Regions from separate parts of the Homo sapiens genome. Here region 2 is linked to region 1. The links are contacts of gene promoters, found by promoter capture Hi-C in blood cells and fetal thymus (Javierre and others, 2016). All regions are on one chromosome and are shown on one strand. The core of a region is centred on a gene start or on the middle of the fragment in contact, and the rest is flanking DNA. Distances in the headings are between cores, read along the strand shown.

What was found. The method cuts DNA at HindIII sites, captures the fragments that hold promoters and counts their contacts. A CHiCAGO score of 5 or more calls a contact.
Region 2: a contact is called between a fragment that was not itself captured here and the fragment with the promoter of CXCL3 in region 1, in 1 of 17 cell types (megakaryocytes). The highest score is 8.1, in megakaryocytes.

What each region holds. Positions count from the first base shown.
Region 1 is chr4:74,035,045-74,041,750 of GRCh38, reverse strand. It overlaps CXCL3 (C-X-C motif chemokine ligand 3), which reads left to right and starts at 3,062. Exons shown (of 4, transcript NM_002090.3): 1 at 3,062-3,239; 2 at 3,338-3,461; 3 at 3,575-3,658; 4 at 4,474-5,162. The coding sequence starts at 3,140. The coding sequence ends at 4,489. It overlaps LOC105377275 (a long non-coding RNA gene), which reads right to left and starts at 2,806. Exons shown (of 2, transcript XR_938875.3): 1 at 804-2,806; 2 at 1-263. The HindIII fragment of the contact is 4,426 bases long and covers 1-3,602 here.
Region 2 is chr4:74,130,745-74,137,450 of GRCh38, reverse strand. The region is part of intron 1 of LOC105377277 (a long non-coding RNA gene); the gene reads left to right. It also overlaps a transcript of MTHFD2L not described here. Among named protein-coding and RNA genes, the nearest start is that of MTHFD2L, 24 kb to the left of the region's middle. The HindIII fragment of the contact is 511 bases long and covers 4,057-4,567 here.

The sequences.
Region 1 (6,706 bases), core at 1,813-4,312:
GAAGAGTACTGATTAGCTTTAGGAGTCTTCAGTATGAGTTTGAAGAATGTTTTTTATCATAACTAGATTTGGGTGATGAATTTTTGGAAGTGGTACCAAAGAGGCATCCTGCTTATGCCATTCTTATGACATCATATCAAGTGGGTACATGATATCCATATGACATCACACTGAAGACGTTTATCTTCACCATTTTTTTAAAGAAGTAGTTTGTCAGCTTTCTCCATGGAAAAGTGCCTATTTTATTCTTCAGAATTGGGCACCTTAAGGAAAGATAATGAGCTACATCAATGCCACAGGAGAGAGTTATGCTGTTAGTGAAACAAAACTACAAAGATATATTATCGTTTTGATGTATTTTCATTTTAAAATATGTAAATTTAAGCTATTCAACTAGGTCAAGAACAAATACATTTTTAAAAATCCTTCCTCCCCTTAAAGTACTAATTATATATCACAGTGCATTTTTACCATAGTTTAATGGTTAAGAGCCATTTTCTCTGGGTTTGATTTCCAGCCTCAAGGATGTATGAAGTTAAGCAAGTGACTTAATCTCTCTGTACCTCAGTTCCTTTGTTTGTAACCATTAAGTCCCATAAAGATAACAATTAATATCTACTTCACAGTATTGTTTGGAAGATTGAATGAGTCAATATTTGTAAAATGCTTAGAAGAGCATTAAATAAATTCTCTGCCCCTTGTCTCTGGTGCAGAGGTTTAACTTGCCCATAGCATGAAGTTATTAAATAAAAAAGCAGCATGTTCCACATTTACCCAGAATCTTGTAAGCTCTTATCATTTACCTTATGTTTGCTGAAGAAAAACAAGCAAATTTTTAATGACCTCCCATCTATGTGCATCTCCTGGTAAAGTACAGATGTGTCTTCCTTTCTGAAAGCCTTCCTAAATTAAAAACATTTAACTTTTTTGTTTTTTATAAATTCCCAATTGAACTTTATTTTTCATTTATAAGTTTGCAGCATTTATTACAGCTTGAAACTGCAGAAGACATTTGGGACACTATTTTGGCCTCCATTGGGTCAATGTTTTTTCTGTATCTATCCTTTCTTTCAAGGAATTTAAGTAGTCAGGGAGATGTGAGAGAGGAAATTATTGAAAAAGAATGGAGCATATATATTACCTATAGTGTCTATTTTAAAGTAACAGGACATTCTAGCACACCTTTCTATCCCTTGTCCAAGATTATTGTAATGACATCACAGATACCCGTGAGCACCAGTAACTACAAGACCATTTTGGAAACTGGGATTGTGGTGTTTATATGAACATTCTTCTTTCTAGGATGTGCTTTGATTTCTTAAGGACTCACACTGCTTTATATCAGTTAGAGACAGGGAGAGTTGGGTGGCAGTAAGGGATACAGAAAATTTTAAATGTGAAAAACACTGGGGAGTAAAACTTTCCATTAGATTCTTCTTTTTTCCTTTACAGAATTCATAGCAGGCTGAGTTTTTGTTCAGGCAATGTCGGGAAAGAAATAGCCTTTTAAAAATGGAAATAGTCCATTTTATTTATTTAACAACCATTAATAAGGCACTTAATCCATGTTGTCTCTTACAAATGTTAACTCATTTCTCATAACCACCTTGGGCTAGGCACAGAGAGGCTTAACAACTTGCAAGTGATACTCTGCAACTAAATACAGGCAGCACAGTTGCACGCTCTGTGTTTGGTTAGGGGCAAGGACTCTTATCCCTTGAGCTGGGTTGTGTAGAGCCCTGTGCTTCAGGCAGATGCCATTCCTTTCTCCTCTCCTCCATCCTACTCCACGTCTCAAAGAGGTCTGAGACCAACTTGTAGAATCACACTTAAACCCTCTAAAACCTAATGACAAATCAAAATACATTATCTAAAACTAGAAAAAGGGACAAAGGTGTCAGGTTAAAAGACTGAAAATCCAGACGAGAAAAAAAAGTGCCCTGTTAATGTTTCCAGAGAAAGATCCCCCAGTGCTGAATACCAGAAAATTCTATAGTAAATGAAATGTGATTTTATGTGTGATCTGGTGTTTAAATGTCATCAGCAGGCAGCTGTTTGCTCCTTCAGTGGGAATGGTGTTTGCACACCAGGTACCTACTCTCTAGTGTCATTCGCAAAGACAGAACCAGAAACATTGAGCCCATGATCCTGCTGGACCCAGCCCCTCCACAGCTTCAGAGTGACAGCCAGTGTCATATTTCTAGATCAAATCTGAATCCCTCCCACTGGGAGAAGGTCTCCAGGGGATTTAGGAAGTTCCAACATTTCAGAGGGAGGAAGGACGTTATGCAGGATACAAAAGAAGAGGTCATGTTATACAGCCCTGGCTTCCACGGACACTAACACTGAATTCAAATTTTGACACTGATAATCTGTTGCCACCAAATGGAAAACGTAAACAAGGTATTCTAAGTGTGATTAGAGAATATGCAAAACAAGGAACAAGTAGAACATTCTTCTCTGGAATCCGAGACGATGGCTGTACTTTCACAGAGAGCATGATGTTAGATGTACATGAAATAACGCTAAACCGAAAATGAGAGAGGCAGAGACCGGGAGGTTAACATAGAGGATAGACTATATAGAGAGAGGATAGCTGAGGGAAAACTCGCCTGTCTCCGGGTCCCCAGCAAATCTGATAACTAAGGAGACAAAGCTCTCTTCCTCTAAAGAAGTCGTGCCTTTCCTGTCCTGGTTCTCACGGGTCCCCCCAGCTCTTTCCTCCAACCCTACCCCGTACGCGGGGGGTCATCGGGGACCTAAGGTCCCCCCTCACAGGCTGTATCTTCAGCGAGGTGGACTCACTGCCTCTCCAGGAATTTGGGGCAGAAAATGAATATCCCAAAGTCCCAGAGTGCACGGGGGTTACTCTGGAGGGCGAGGCGTAGGCGTCACCAGTGGGCTCCCCCTACCCGTATCCGACTCCACCCCGGGGGCGGGGCCGTCGCCTTCCTTCGGGACTCCGGATCGATCTGGAGCTCCGGGAATTTCCCTGGCCCGGCCGCTCCGGGCTTTCCAGTCTCAACCATGCATAAAAAGGGTTCGCCGATCTTGGGGAGCCACACAGCCCGGGTCGCAGGCACCTCCCCGCCAGCTCTCCCGCTTCTCGCACAGCTTCCCGACGCGTCTGCTGAGCCCCATGGCCCACGCCACGCTCTCCGCCGCCCCCAGCAATCCCCGGCTCCTGCGGGTGGCGCTGCTGCTCCTGCTCCTGGTGGCCGCCAGCCGGCGCGCAGCAGGTGGGTCCCGGCGCCCTGGGGTCCCCGGGCCGGACGCGGCTGGGGTGGGCGCCCCGCGCCGACAGCCCCGCTCAATCAGCGAGTCTATTCTTCCCTAGGAGCGTCCGTGGTCACTGAACTGCGCTGCCAGTGCTTGCAGACACTGCAGGGAATTCACCTCAAGAACATCCAAAGTGTGAATGTAAGGTCCCCCGGACCCCACTGCGCCCAAACCGAAGTCATGTAAGTCCCGCCCCGCGCTTCCGCTGCCACCGCTGGGGTCCCCGACTCTCCCGCTGCCCCAACCCTGTCCCCAGCCCGACCTCCTGTCTCACGGAATTCCCTTCTCTCTGCAGAGCCACACTCAAGAATGGGAAGAAAGCTTGTCTCAACCCCGCATCCCCCATGGTTCAGAAAATCATCGAAAAGATACTGAACAAGTGAGTTGTAATTTCCATATACACAGGCGACTGGAGCCGTTGGTCAGAAATACTGGCATCTGCCCCCTAAAAATAAAATCAGGGAACCCCAAGAGTTAGCTGAAGGACTAGAAATTGTGATTATTATTTTCACAATTAAAGTTGCCATTAAGGTTATTAATCTGCTCTGGTGCCAGAGGATATTTCAGTATTTCAGTGTCTTCCATTTCCAGGCCTAACCCCTGGGAGGGTAAATGTGGGTTTCTAGAATACTAAGTAAATTTGACTAACAATGCCAAAATGCCCCCTGCCTGTTTTGGGACGTTTACCTCAGTCCCTAATGGGCTTCAGACCTGAAAAATGCAATGTCTGGTTTGGGCACTTTGGGCCTGTAAGCCTTCTTGGTGAAGAGCAGAAACTTTGCAGTAACACCTTCAGTGAGTTCAAGGCTAGGATCCCTGTCAACGTTATTTAATCTCTTTGAGCTTTAGCAAAATAGGGTAGATAATGGTAGTTATTTCATAGGGTTGTGTGCAGCTTAAGGGAGATCATGAATGGACATTTCTAACCCAATGTGACAATCAGTGACCAATATGTTTTGGCTTTTTCAAACCAAGAATCTAGTTGAGTCCACAGCCACTTCTTTCTTGAAAAAAAAAAAAAAAGCATTCAGGAGTGCAAGTTTTCTGCTATAGAAGGCAGTGGGTACAGACAGACCTTCCCTGAGTGGAGGGCTGGGAGAGAGTCTGCATGGGGACATCCCTCCAAGCAACTTCAGAGTGACAGAAGAGCAGCCTTCCTTAGCACCTGCAACAGTAACCCTTTTCTCATCACAGGGGGAGCACCAACTGACAGGAGAGAAGTAAGAAGCTTATCAGCGTATCATTGACACTTCCTGCAGGGTGGTCCCTGCCCTTACCAGAGCTGAAAATGAAAAAGAGAACAGCAGCTTTCTAGGGACAGCTGGAAAGGACTTAATGTGTTTGACTATTTCTTACGAGGGTTCTACTTATTTATGTATTTATTTTTGAAAGCTTGTATTTTAATATTTTACATGCTGTTATTTAAAGATGTGAGTGTGTTTCATCAAACATAGCTCAGTCCTGATTATTTAATTGGAATATGATGGGTTTTAAATGTGTCATTAAACTAATATTTAGTGGGAGACCATAATGTGTCAGCCACCTTGATAAATGACAGGGTGGGGAACTGGAGGGTGGGGGGATTGAAATGCAAGCAATTAGTGGATCACTGTTAGGGTAAGGGAATGTATGTACACATCTATTTTTTATACTTTTTTTTTAAAAAAAGAATGTCAGTTGTTATTTATTCAAATTATCTCACATTATGTGTTCAACATTTTTATGCTGAAGTTTCCCTTAGACATTTTATGTCTTGCTTGTAGGGCATAATGCCTTGTTTAATGTCCATTCTGCAGCGTTTCTCTTTCCCTTGGAAAAGAGAATTTATCATTACTGTTACATTTGTACAAATGACATGATAATAAAAGTTTTATGAAAAAAAAGGCTTATGTGGTTTTTCAAAAAATTCTTCTTGACTTTTAGTTCTTCCCAGGCACCCAAGGTGTTATACAGTTAGGCTGCAGGTTCTATCTAAATCTGTGCCTGCTTCTAGCTGTCACTTCCCTTATATTTCTCTTATTCAAAACGGACTATCCGATGCTTTTAGAAAGTACATACTACCCCCCAACCACTTTGATAATTCTAATTTTGTATAACATTTAGCTGTTTTTCACATTGACCAATTTGTTATTCAAAACTAGTTCTTTACAAATTTTTGAATGTTATTGATATTTTAACATGGGCGTCTGCTAGATCTGCTAGATGCTTTTGGTAAACGGTTTCTCAAATACTTATGCAATTCTTTCCCGTTTAACAAGGTTGGGAGCAAAAGGTAGAAAAGTTGATTCTGCCTTAGAACTAAAAAGAATTGTGATATTAAAAAAAATGACCTATTGAGATACTGTAATGTAAAATATATGACAAAAATAGCACAAAAGACAGGTTGGGAGATAAGTGGGTTTAGACTATAACATATCTCTTCAATTGTTAGAGAAAGTATTAAGAAAAAAATTGTAGCAAGAACAAATGTTGTAATTTGTAGGGCAACAACTAAAAGGAAAATGCAAAATTTTGGACTTAATCTAAAAAGGACATAAAATAGTGTAATAGAAAATACCCGACTAATACAAAAGAAGACAGAAATGGAGGAATAAACCAACACATGGATCAAAGGCAGAAGAGACACATCTTTACAGAAGAATTGCTGATAATATGAGTATAGTCTCCTCCTTCCCGAAGGTGAAGCTTAATTCCCCTCTCCAGGTGCGTGTAGCTAGACTTAGTGACTGGCTTCCAAAGAAAAGACTAAGAAAAAGGAAAAAAAAATTACAGTGGAGAAATTTGGCAGACAATCTTAACCAAGTGATCAAGGTTACTGTCACCAATTATGGCATGTGAATATTACGCACCCCCTCATATAATGTGATGGAAGGACACTTCCACTCCATTTATATTCTTCCAGAAAATGCATAACCTTTGTATAATCACAACAAGGACATCATAAAAATCTGAACTGATTTTTATGGTGGTAAAACTGATGGACGTTTTACAAAACTCCTCATAAGTACTCTTCAACCTGTCAAGGTCATGAAAAACAAGACAAAATCAATAAATTGTCACAGATTAAAGGAGACAAAAGTGATATGGGGACTAAATACAATGTGGTATGTTGAATTGGATCCTGGAATAGAAAAAAGGACATTATTGGAAAATTGATGAAATCTGAATAAAGACAAGAGTTTAGTTAACAGCAATGTACCAATGTTAATTTCTTAGTTTTGTCAAATATACTACAAGTATGTAAGATGTCAACATTACGGGACACTGAGCTAAAGGTCAGATATAGAAACTCTCTGTGCCCACACAAATTTTTTGTGAGTCTAAAATTATTCCAAATTTAAAAGTTTATTTTTCAAAAGATAGGACAAATATAATAGCAGATAGTAGACTTAGATACAACTATATTAAGAATTATAGTAAATTTAAG
Region 2 (6,706 bases), core at 3,063-5,562, 94 kb before region 1:
TGATACAAGCCATTTTAACTGGGATGGGATGATATCTCATTGTGGTTTTAATTTGCATTTCTCTGATATATAGTACTGTTGAGCATTACTTTAATATAGCTGTTAGTCATTTGTATATTTCCTTTTGAGAGGTGTCTATTCAGACATGTTGTCCATTTTTAAATTAAGGTTTACATTTTTTTCCTATTGAATTGTTTGAGATTTCTATATACTCTAGTTATTAATCCCTTGTCAGATAAATAGCTTGCAATTGTTTTTTCCCATTCTGGGTTGTTTCTTCACTCTGTTGATTGTTTCCTTTGCTATTCAAAAGTTTTATAGTTTGATGTAATCCCAATTGTCTATTTTTGCTTTGGTTGCCTGTGCTTTAGAGGTTACACAAGAAATCTTTGTCCAGATCATTGTCCTGAAGTATTTCCTCAGAGTTTTATTCTAGTAGTTCATGGTTTTAGGTCTTAGATTCAAGTCTTTAATTCATTTTGATTTAATTTTTGTGTATGGTGAGAGATAGGGGTCTAGTTTCTTTCTTCTGCATATAGTTATCCAATTTTCTCAGCACCACCTATTGAAAAGGCTGACCTTTCCCCATTTTAGGCTCTTAATGCCTTTGCTGAAGATGAATTGGCTGCAAATGCATGGATTTATTTCCAGATTATTATTCTGTTTTATTTATCTGTCTGTTTTTATGCCAGTACCATACTGTTTTGGTTACTATAGCTTTGTAATAGATTTGAAGTCAGGTAGTGTGATGTATACAGCTTTGTTCTTTTTGTTCAGGATTGCTTTGGCTATTTAGGATCTTTTGCAGTTCCATATGAATTTCAGATTTTTAAAACATTTCTGTGAAGAATGTCATTGGAATTTTGATGGGGATTGCAGTGAGTCTGGAAATTGTTTGGGGTAGTATTGTCATATTAACAATATTAAGTCTTCCAATCCATGAGCGGAGAATATTTTTCCAATTTTTTGGTGCTTTCTTCTATTTCTTTCACCAGAGTTTTATAGTTTTTCTTGTGTAGGTCTTTCACATCTTTGGTTTCAATTGATTCCCAGGTATTGCATATTCTTTGTAGTTTTAAATGAGATTGCCTTCTTGACTTCATTTTTGGCTAGATCAGTCTTGGTGTGTAGAAACACTACTAATTTTTGTACATTGATTTTGTATCCTACAACTTTACTAAATTCCTGTATGAGTTATAACAGTTTTTTTTGGTAGAGTCTTTAGGTTTTTCTGCATATAAGATGAACAAAGCTAATTTGACTTCTACCTTTCCAATTTGGTTTTCCTTCATTTCTTTTTCTTACCTAATTGCTCTGGCCAGGACTTCCAGTATTATATTGAATAACAGCAAAATAATAGTGAAAGTGGGCATTCTTATCTTGGTCTAGCCTTTAGAGGAAAGGCCTTCAATTTTTCCTTGTTAAGTGTGTTGTTAGCTATGGGTTTGTCATAGATGGCTTTTATTATTTTCAGGTATGTTTCTTCTATGCCCAGTTTGTTGAGGATTTTTATCATAAAGGAATGTTGAATTTTATCAAATGCCTTTACCTTTATGGCATCTATTGAAATAATTATATGATTCTCATTCTCGATTCTGTTAATGTCGTGTATAACATGTATTGATTTGCATATGTTGAACCATCCTGTATCTCTGGAATGAATTCTACTTGACAATGGTAAATGAGTATTTTGCTGAAGATTTTTACATCTGTGTTCACTGGTGATATTGGCCTCTAGCTTCTTTAAAAAAAAAATGTGTCCTTGTCTGGTTTTGGTATCACAGTAACACTGGCCTTGTAGAATGAGTTTGAAAGTATTCCCTCTCTCCTCTTTAATCGTTTTGAAGTATTTGAATAGAATTGGTATTAGTTCTTTAAATGTTTGGTAGAACTTAGCAGTGAAGTTATCAGGCCGTGAGCTTTTCTTTGATGGGAGACTTTTTATTATGGCTTTGATTTCATAACTCATTATTGGCTTATTGAGGTTTTCTATTTGTTGATGGTTCAATATTGGTAGGTTGCATGTGTCCAGGAATTTATCCATTTCTTCTATATTTTCCAATTTGTTGGCATGTAATGGTTCCTAATTGTTTCTAATGATTCTTAGTATTTCTGAGGTCTCAGTTGTCATGTGTCCATTTTTGTTCCTACTTTTATTTATTTGGGTCTTCTCTCTTTTTTTCTTATTCTGGCTAAAGATGATTTGGAGCTCCTTTATATGCTGCTTGCTTCTTTTCTCTTGCTGCCATTACAGTTTTATCTTTATGCTTGATCTTTGACAGTTTGATTAGTAAATACCTTCATTAGTCTTATTTGACTAATGTGATGCTCTAAGGCCTTCCTGTACCTGAATATTTATATCTTTCTCATGTTTTGGAAAGTATTCTCTTATTATTTCTTTGAATAAGCTTTCTACCCTTGCTCCTGCTCTGCTCTCTCTTGAACATCAATAATTTTTAGATTTTGTCTTTGAGGTAATTTTCTATATCTTGTAAGTGGCCTTCTCTCATTTTCATTCTTTTTTTCTTTTCTCTCCTCTGTTTATTTTTTAACAGCCAGTCTTTGAGCTCATTGATTCTCTTCTCTGCTTGACCTATTCTGTGGTTGAGATCCCCTGAAGAGTTTCTTAGTTCAGCAAATGTAGTTCTTAGTTACAAGATTTCTGCTTATCATTATTTCAATTTCCTTGTTAAATTTCTCTGATAAATATCTGAGTTGCTTTTCTGTGTTATCTTAGAGATAACAAAGTTTCCTTAAAACAGCTGTTTTGAATTCTTGGTCAGAGAGTTCACAAATCGCCATCTCAGGAGGGTCAGTCGCTGGAACTTTGCTTTGTCTAGAAGGTTATGGTTCCATGTTTGCTGTTGTTTCTTGTGGGTATACATCTATGTATTTGTATTAATAATTATTTAGTCCAGCTTTATCTGTCTAGTTTGGTTTGGTTTTTATTGAATACAGTTGCTTATGAATCTTAACTGCCAGCTTGCTGCCTTGTTTTCGGCTCTAGATGGCGCCATAAGCCTATGTTTACCTTGACTTTTGCAAATGGCCATGGCACTGCCTGTCCCATAAGGAGGAGGACCAAAGGGATTACCCTAGCACTGTGGGAAGGCCGGCCACGGGTGTGTTCCCAGGGGACTTGTGGAACATACTTGCTACATGATTTCTACTGATTTGGCATCTCCTTTGGTCAAGTTACAAGGAGTTTTTACGGCTGAGGATGGTAGTCCTGGCTTCCCTATTTGTCTTTGCCAGCCTTCACAGACATTTCTCCCTCCAGGCAGTCACAGTGCTACCTGTGGTTTAAGGCAAAGGCAGGTCTCCTGGCAGGAAACCGAAGAAGATGGGAAAGCTGGTTGACAATCTCAATTTCACGTTTTTCAGTGCAGAAACCATGAGTTGAGGGCAGATTTTTCATACTGCTGATGCCTGGTGTAATGCAGGGAAGAGGCCTCATGGATGTAGAATCTGGTTCTCCTACCATCTGCTCAGAATGTTTCCACTTCTCTGTACCTACAGGAACTGTCTCATCCTCATACAGGATCTCTGGGTTGCTGCTGGTGAAGATCTTGCTGCTGTGTATTTCTTTTTGGTTTCTGGTGGAGGGGAGAGAAGCAAGCTTGCTTCTATGCTGCCATTTTGGGATTAGAAAACCGATATGTGAACTTTATAACTAAGAATTCAAAATAGCAATTTTAAGGAAACTCAGTGACCTACAAGATAACATAGAAAAACAATTCAGATACTTATCAGAGAAATTTAACAAGAAAATTGAAATAATAATTTAAAAATGAAACAGAAATCTTGGAACGGAGAACCACATTTGCTGAATTGAAACACTCTTTAGAGGATCTCAATAACAGAATGGGTTAGAGAAAAGAATCAGTGAGCTCAAAGACTGGCTATTAAGAAAATACAGTCCAAAGAAAGAAAAGAAAAAAACAATAAAAAGAAATGAAGGCCACCTTTAAAATATAGAAAATTACCTCAAAAGACCAAATCTAAAAATTATTGGTGTTTAAGGGGGAGCTGAGCAAGAGCAAGGGGAGAAAAGCTTATCCTAAGAAATAATAACAGAGCACTTTCCAAAACTCATGAAAGACAGAAATATCTAGATATAGAAAGGTCAGGGAACACCAAACAGATTCAACCCAAGTAACACTAACCAAGGCATATAATAATTGAACTTTCAAATATCAAAGACAAAGAGAAGATCCAGAAAGCAGCAAAAGAGTAAAATAACAAAGCAACTCCAGTTCATCTGGCAACAGACTTCACAATGGAAACCATGTAGGCCAGAAGGAAATAGGGCAGCATTAACAAAGAGAAATTGTCTTTCACAGACAAAAGCTAAGAGAATTCACCACTACTAGACCCGTCTTGCAAGAAATGCTAAAGGGAATTCTTCAACCTGAAATTAAAAAATGCTAACATATTAGTGTACTAACTAAAAGAAAATATTTCAAGGTATAAAACCCACTGGTAAAATTAAGTATGAACACAACCCCAGAATATGCTAATAATTTAATTGTGGTGTGCAATCCAATCATAACTCTAGTAAGAAGCTTATAAAGACAAATCTATCAAAAACAATAATAGCGACAACAACCTGTTCAAAATAGATATTTTTAAAATATGCGAACTGATATAATAAAAATTCAAAGTGTTTGTGGGAGGTGTGGAGTTAAAGTGTAGAGCATTTTTTTCATTATTATTATACTTTAAGTTCTGAGATACATGTGCAGAATGTGCAGGTTTGTTACATAGGTATACATGTGCTATGGTGGTTTGCTGCACCCATCAACCCGTCATCTACATTAGGTACTTCTCCTAATGGTGTCCCTCCCTTAGCGCCCCACCCTCTGACAGGCCCTGGTGTGTGATGTTCCCCTCCCTGTGTCCATGTGTTCTCATTGTTCAACTCCCACTTATGAGTGAGAACATGTGGTGTTTGGTTTTCTGTTCTTGTGTTAGTTTGCTGAGAATGATGGTTTCTAGCTTCACCCATGTCTCTGCAAAGGATGTGAACTCATCCTTTTTTATGGCTGCATAGTATTCCATGGTGTATATGTGCCACATTTTCTTTATCCAATCTATCATTGATGGGTATTTGGGTTGGTTTGACATCTTTGCTATTGCTATAGTGCTGCAAGAAACATACCTGTGCATGTGTGATTATAGTAGAATGATTTATAATCCTTTGGGTATATATCCAGTAATGAGATTGCTGGTCAAATGGTATTTCTGGTTCTAGATCCTTGAGGAATCGCTACATTGTCTTCCATAATGGCTGAACTAATTTATTCTCCCACCAACAATATAAAAGCATCCCTATTTCTCCACTTCCTCTTCAGTATCTGTTGTTTCCTGACTTTTTAATGATTGCCATTCTAACTAGTGTGAGATGGTATCTCATTGTGGTTTTGATTTGCATTTCTCTAATGACCAGTGATAATGAGCTTTCTTTTTATATATGTTTTTTTGGCCGCATAAATGTCTTCTTTTAAGAAGTGTCTGTTCACATCCTTCACCCACTTTTTGATGGGCATGTTTGTTTGTTTTTCTTGTAAATTTGTTTAAGTTCTTTGTAGATCCTGGATATTAGCCCTTTGTCAGATGGATAGATTGCAAAATTTTTCTCTCATTCTATAGGTTGCCTGTTCACTCTGATGATAGTTTCTTTTGCTGTGCAGAAGCTCCTTAGGTTAATTAGATCCCATTTGTCAATTTTGGCTTTTGCTGCCATTGCTTTTGGTGTTTTAGTCATGAAGACTTTGCCCATGCCTGTGTCCTGAATGGTACTGCCTAGGTTTTCTTCTTGGGCATTTATAGCTTTAGGCCTTATGTTTAAGTATTTAATCCATCTTGAGTTAATTTTTGTTTAAGGTGTGAGGAAGGGGTCCAGTTTCAGTTTTCTGCATATGGCTAGCCAGTTTTCCTAACACCACTTATTAAATAAGGAATCCTTTCCCTATTGCTTATTTTTATCGTTTGTCAAAGATCAGATGGTTGTAGATGAGTGGTGTTATTTCTGAGGCCTATGTTCTGTTCCATTGGTCTGTATATCTATTTTGTTACCAGTACCATGCTGTTTTGATTACTGTGGACTTGTAATATAGTTTGAAGTCAGGTAGCATGATGCTTGCAGCATTTTTCTGTTTGTTTAGGATTGTCTGGGCTATATGGGCTCTTTTTTGTTTCCACATGAAATTTAAAGTAGCTTTTTCTAATTCTGTGAAGAAAGTCAATGGTAGCTTGATGGGATAGCATTGAATCTATAAATTACTTTGGGCAGTATGGCCTTTTTCACAATATTGATTCTTCCTATCAATGAGCATAGAATGTTTTTCCATTTGTTTGTGTCCTCTCATTTCCTTGAGCAGCGGTTTGTAGTTCTTCTTGAAGGGTCCTTCACATCCCTTGTAAGTTGTATTCCTAGGTATTTTATTCTTTTTGTAGCAATTGTGAATGGGAGTTCACTCAGGATTTAGTTCTCTGTTTGTCTATTATTGGTGTATAGGAATGCTTGTGATTTTCGCACATTGATTTTGTATCCTGAGACTTTGCTGAAGTTGCTGATAAAGCTTAAGGAGATTTTGGGCTGATATGATGGGGTTTTCTGAATATATAATCATGTCATTTGCAAATAGAGACAATTTGACTCCCTCTATTCCTATTTGAATACCCTTTATTTCTTTCTCTTGCC